Linked DNA regions of Homo sapiens: region 1 is linked to region 2. Evidence: promoter capture Hi-C in 16 types of primary human blood cells and fetal thymus (Javierre and others, 2016). All regions are on one chromosome and are shown on one strand. Each heading gives the region's core, a stretch centred on a gene start or on the middle of the fragment in contact. The rest is flanking DNA. Distances are from core to core; before and after follow the strand shown.

Region 1 (2,769 bases), core at 19-2,518, 220 kb before region 2:
ATGAAAATACAGCATATCAAAATGTGTGGGATGCTGCTAAAGCTGTACTCAGAGGGAAATTTGTAGCACCAAATGATTACATTAGAGGAGGAAAAGCCTCATATCAGTAATCTAAACTGCCACCTCAAGGAACCAGAAAAGGGAGAGTAAAATAAACCTAAAGCAAGCAAAAGAAAGAAAACAGAAGCTATCACAACAGATCCTAAAGACAATGGAAGGATAACTCAAGGACTACTAAAAGATCTCTACACACATACATTTGACAACTGATATGAAATTGACCAATTTCTCCAAAAAAACAAACTATTGCAACTCACAATATGAAACAGATCATCTGAATTAAGAAACAGAGCTCATGATTTTAAAACTCTCAAAAAAGAAATCTTCAGACTCAAATGGTTTCACTGTCGAGTTCTACTAAACATTTAAATAATTATCACCAATTCCACACAACCTCTTCCAAAACCGAAAAGAGGAAATACTCTCCAATACATTCCATGAGGCCCGTTTGTTAGCAAGAGAGAAAAAGGAGAGGGTCATCTCTGTTATTCTTGGGAGAAACTCCCTATGAGATGTCAGTCACTTTCATCTGCTCTCCCCCTAAACACACACACACACACACACACACACACACACACACACACACACACACACACCCTCTCTTCATCTACTCTCCAACTCTATGGCCCTGCAAGGCATTACCATGGGAACCATGTGGCTCCTTTGATCCAGCTGCAGCCAATTGACCATTAGAGACCACCCAACTCAAGCTGGCCAAGTAATCTTTTTTAAGTTAAAAAAAACTCTCATATGGAGAAATATAAAACATAAATGTACAATTGAGCAAATTATCCCAAAGAACACTCATGTAACCACCACCCAGGTCAAAGAAAACTGCTAACATTCAAAAACCGCTTATGCCTCTGCTCAACCCCACACCATCTCCCAACCCCTAAAGCTAGCTACTACTATAATTTCTACACTACACCTTAGATCTGCCTACTTCTGAATTTTATATAAATGGAATCATATAATATGTATTCTTTTGTATTTGATTTCCTTCATTCAACATTCTGCTTGTGAGATCATCCTTTAATTCATTTTCTAATTTTTATTTCATTTGGTAATAATTGCTAGTATTAGAAATACAATCTATTTTTGTATTTATCCTTCTGTTTGACAAGCTTATTAAATTCACTTATAAAATCTAATTACTTGGGAGTTTCCACTAACATAATAATGAGAGCTTTATCCTTTCTTTCCAGTGATTTTGCACTAGATGGGACTTTCCGTACAATGTTGAACAGATATGGAGATAACAGCATCCGGGTCTTGTTCCTGATCTCAGAAGGCAAGCTTTCAACATTGTCCCCATTAATATGATATCTATTTGCTGTTGGCTTTTTTGTAGATATGTAGATTCTATAGAAACTTTTGTAGATTAAGGAAGTCCCTTTAGATAGTTAGTTATAAACATGAATGGATGTTGAATTTCAGCATCAACTGAGATAATCATTTGATTTTTCTCTTTGGTTATGAATCATACCAATTTATTTTCAAATACCAAGCCAAACTTACATTTCTCTTGCAGTCTGTAAATGACAATATTTGTCTTTTAAAAACACACTTTTTATTAAAGTGTAGCATACATATGCATATATAACAGCAGATGCACAAATCATACATGTAGAGTTTGATGAATTTTTAAAATTTGAACACCTCGCTAAAAAACAGCTCTCAAATAAAGTAAGAGAAGATTACCCGCCCACAAAAACTCTATACATGCCTCTTTCCAATCACTACCCCAGAGGTGATCACTATCCTGACATCTAACACAATGTATTCATTATGACTGTGTGTGAAGTTTTTATAAATGGAATTGTATAGAAGGTGCCTGAGGTTTTCTGTTTAAAATTTTGTTTATTAGATTCTCCAATGTTGTTCCATAAAGAAATAGCTCTTACATGCTCACTTCTGTATAATCTTTATGTATGTGAGTGTACCAAAGTTACCTGTCTATTCTATTGGTAATAGATATTTTGGTCGTTTCTAACTTGGGGTTATTACAATGGTGCTGAAGCGAACATATGTATTCTTTTCTGTTGGTCATGTACTTAGGAATGGAGTTTTACAGCATATGACTACGTTCTGCTTTAGAAAATTCTGCTAGTTTTCCAAAGTTAATTGTAGCAATTCATATTCCCACCAATGTATATGAGAGTTCTAGGGGCTTCACATCCTTGCCAACACTGCCATTGTCTGTCTTTTTCATTTCAGCCACTCTGTTTGGGAATGTCTTTTGTCCATTGTTTGATTATTTGGTAAGGCTTTTTCTCATTGGCGGATAGTTCTTTCAATATTCTTCAGAGTCACCATTTCCCTCCACTTGCCTCTGTGAGGGAGCCCAGGGCTCCTCCTCCCTCAGCTCTTCTAAGCCCAGATGAAGCCTGGCCCTTCTGAGCACATCCCAAGGCCACACCTGCATTCTAGGCGACTCCCTTGTCCCTTTGATTCACTGGGTAGTCTGGTGCCTGAAAGGCAGGGTCAGTGATGAGAGTGGTTAAACATCGCAGGCAGGGGAGTTTGAAACCAGCTCTACCTCTTCCCCACTCCCCAGATCTAGCCACGTCATTCAGCCTGTCTCAGCTTCAGTGTCCCCATGTGAAAATAGGAATACTAAAAGCATCTCCCTCATAAAATTGTTAGAACTTAATGAAGTAACTTATAAAGATGCTTAGAACAGTGCCCAGCACATAGGGGCTGCTCAAT
Region 2 (2,815 bases), core at 78-2,577:
CTCCCCAACCCCTGTCCCATCCCTAACCTTCCCCCTTCCAGTCAAGGGCATAGCTTCCTCACCCTCTCCCTCCCTCCAGTTCAAAGGTTCCTTAGTGACAGGCTGTGCCTAATGTACAGATGGGGAAACTGAGGCCCAGGAACAATGGGAGGGTCCAGAGACCCTTGTGTAGAACTTGTGCAGGGCTCAGACCCAGACTTCTGGCTCCAGCCCACCAGGTTCACCTAGCTAGATGGCTCAGAGAGGGTGGGCAACTCACCTGAGGCACAGAGCAAGATCCTGACGGGCCCTGCCTCACAGCTGTCCTCAGGCAGCCCTGATGCTCACCACGGGGTGCGGTGGGGTGGGGCAGGGTGAGGACAGAACTGGCCAGTCACGGCGTGCCCAGGTGAGTCAGCGGCTGCCCCTGTGGCGCTCTAACCAGTAGCCAGACCTGGTCTCTCCTCTGCATTCCTGGCCTCTGTCCACGCTAGGTCCCTCCCGGGCAGGGTCACTGGGGCCTTCCCTGTCCTCTCCCAGGCCTGGCTCCTTAGGCCCCTGACACACCTTGTCGTGACACTCACTCACTCTGGTATTTCCTGGTCTGAACAGGCAGGGAAGTTCTGCCTGCTGTGGAGGCTTTTTCATGGGCTGCCGTGGCAGCCCCTTCGTTGTCTGGTGCCCAGTGGGGGAGAGTAGAGACACGCACTGCCCCAGGGAGGGGGCGCTGAACTGTCACACCTGATCCCTCAGTCTCATGCTCGCCTCTCCCCGCTGCACCCTTCCTCGGCCCCACCATGGCTACAAGCCTCTTGTCCTAGACAAGCACCCCTCCCTGCTGTCGCATATGTCCCAGCTTCCCTTCCTCTCCCTGCCCAGGCACACACTCAGTCGCTGGAGTTTCCCAGACCCGAGCTCCTGTTCCGGCCGCCAGGCATTTGCCATGCCGCTCCCATGCGAAAAGGCCACCTCCTGGAATCCCGGGTCGGGCCCTTCCGCCCTAACCAGCCGGCGTCACCTCCTCCTGGCAGTCTCTCCTGCTGGCTGGGGCCCCGTGGCCCTGCCACCACGGCTCAGGTCAGGCCCGGGGCGCTGCCCCGAACCCAAGCAGGCTAGCAGCCAGGCAGGGAGGACGACGCTGTGAGCGGGGTATCTTACGAGGGACTCGGACGGCCGGGGGATGACTGCCGCCGGGACCAAGGAGCTGGGCGGGGACCGCAGCAGCCGAGGAGGCGGGAGCCCCCACCTGGACGAGCTAAGCGTGGAGCGCAGACACCCGTCCGCAGACGCGCGCCCTTCGTCGCGCCCTTACCTGAGCGCTGTGGTTGCCCCGCGCCGGGACTGCCTGTGCGGCTCCTCGCTCGCACCCCCACCCTGCCCCCTGCCAGTCCCGCCCCCTGCCAGCCCCGCCCCCTTCGCCCAGCCCCGCCCCGCCCCGCCTCCGGGTGTTGCTCTGGAGTTGCGGGGGCCACGGGCGGGCCACCGAGGAGCTGGCGCGCGGTATTGATCCGTCCCGCCGCCCCAAGCCTCTCCTGAGGCCTCCCTCTGGCGTCCCCCGGGATCCGGAGGCCCCTGGGACCCGGCGCGGGGAGGAAAAGTGGGAGTCTTGACCCCTCCGCCCCCTACGCACCCACGCGCACACTCAGGCTCGCCTCTCGCGCCCCGCTTCCCCTGCAAGGCTCCGAGGCCGCCGTGCCACCACCTCGCCCCGCCAGTCAGTCGCTCTGCGAGCCTGTGGTGCAGCCCCGTGACCTCCCGGGTCTGCCCTGAGTCACAGAAGCCAGCACACGCGGAGCGCTGTGTGGGTTCGTGGAACTTGGAGCCTGTAGAGGGGTATACTGAGGCGCCCTGCGGCCCCCTGGGCTGGGTGTCCACGGCCGGCCGCCCCTCCTGTGCGACCTTGGGGAAGTCCCCTTTCCTCCCCACTCCTGAGTCTCAACAGGCCTAGTAGAGCATGAAGCCGGCCGCGTGTGCTTTGTGCGAAGGCCTGAGACCTTGGAAAGGGTGGCTGAAGACTTATCTGGGACAGACCCCCCGGGAGCGGGAGGGAACTTAGTTCAAACCTGTAACAAAGAAGCCCCCCGTCAGCAGCCTGATTCCCCCTCTGGCCACCAGGTTAGTCACCCATTGCTCTCAGTGGCACTCAGGTTCCAGTGAGGGGGAGGCTCAGGGTCCAAGGCGGCCGTGGAAGAGCAGAAAGGGTGGCCCACCAGCCCCCTACTCAGCCCCCTACTGAGGAGGTGGGAGGCATCCCCCAACCTGCCAGGCTGAAGAGACCCCCAGTGGAGGTAAGTAGGGGCCTGGGGCCTGCCAAGCTCATCCCCTGGCTCCCTTGGGTTGTTGCGAGGTGGGAGTTTACTGTCTGCCAAGCTGCACATCACCCCTTGGAGGGTTTCCAGCCTGGGACCCTTGTCTGAGTGACTGCAGGTCCCAGTGACCTCACCCTTTTGCCCCACATTGCTCTCCTCCTGGGTCCCAATCCTGCAGAGCCGCCCCTTCCTGCTTCTCCATCCCTCCCCACATTGCCAAAGCCCGCCCTAGCTCTGGCCTCCCCTTTTCCAGCCTTGTTTTCTTGCCCCCTTCTGCACCCCCTGCTGCCTGAGGGGCTCCACTCCCAAAGGCCTTGCTCCTCTGGTCCCTGCCTGCTAGAGGTGTTGCTGTGTTGGTGGGTGGGGGCTACCTCAAGGAGGCTTCTGGTGAGGTGTCCCTCTGGCCCTCTGGGAAAGCCTCCCCTCCCCATGCCCTCCACCCCCAGGCTCCGGACCTTGGCCCCCACTCCCCTTCACAGCCCTGTTGGCCTGCGGGACTGTCTGCTGGGGCACTTGGCTCCCTGAGT

Evidence for each region. The method cuts DNA at HindIII sites, captures the fragments that hold promoters and counts their contacts. A CHiCAGO score of 5 or more calls a contact.
Region 1: a contact is called between a fragment that was not itself captured here and the fragment with the promoter of ALS2CL in region 2, in 1 of 17 cell types (M1 macrophages). The highest score is 5.7, in M1 macrophages.

Annotation. Positions count from the first base shown.
Region 1 is chr3:46,474,912-46,477,680 of GRCh38, forward strand. It overlaps a transcript of LTF not described here. Among named protein-coding and RNA genes, the nearest start is that of LTF, 11 kb to the left of the region's middle. The HindIII fragment of the contact is 172 bases long and covers 1,183-1,354 here.
Region 2 is chr3:46,692,352-46,695,166 of GRCh38, forward strand. ALS2CL (ALS2 C-terminal like) reads right to left here and starts at 1,328. Exons shown (of 26, transcript NM_147129.5): 1 at 1,292-1,328. It also overlaps a transcript of TMIE not described here. RefSeq lists enhancers at 1-683, 2,265-2,815 and silencers at 1,128-1,422, 1,153-1,402, 1,553-1,632. The HindIII fragment of the contact is 12,869 bases long and covers 1-2,815 here.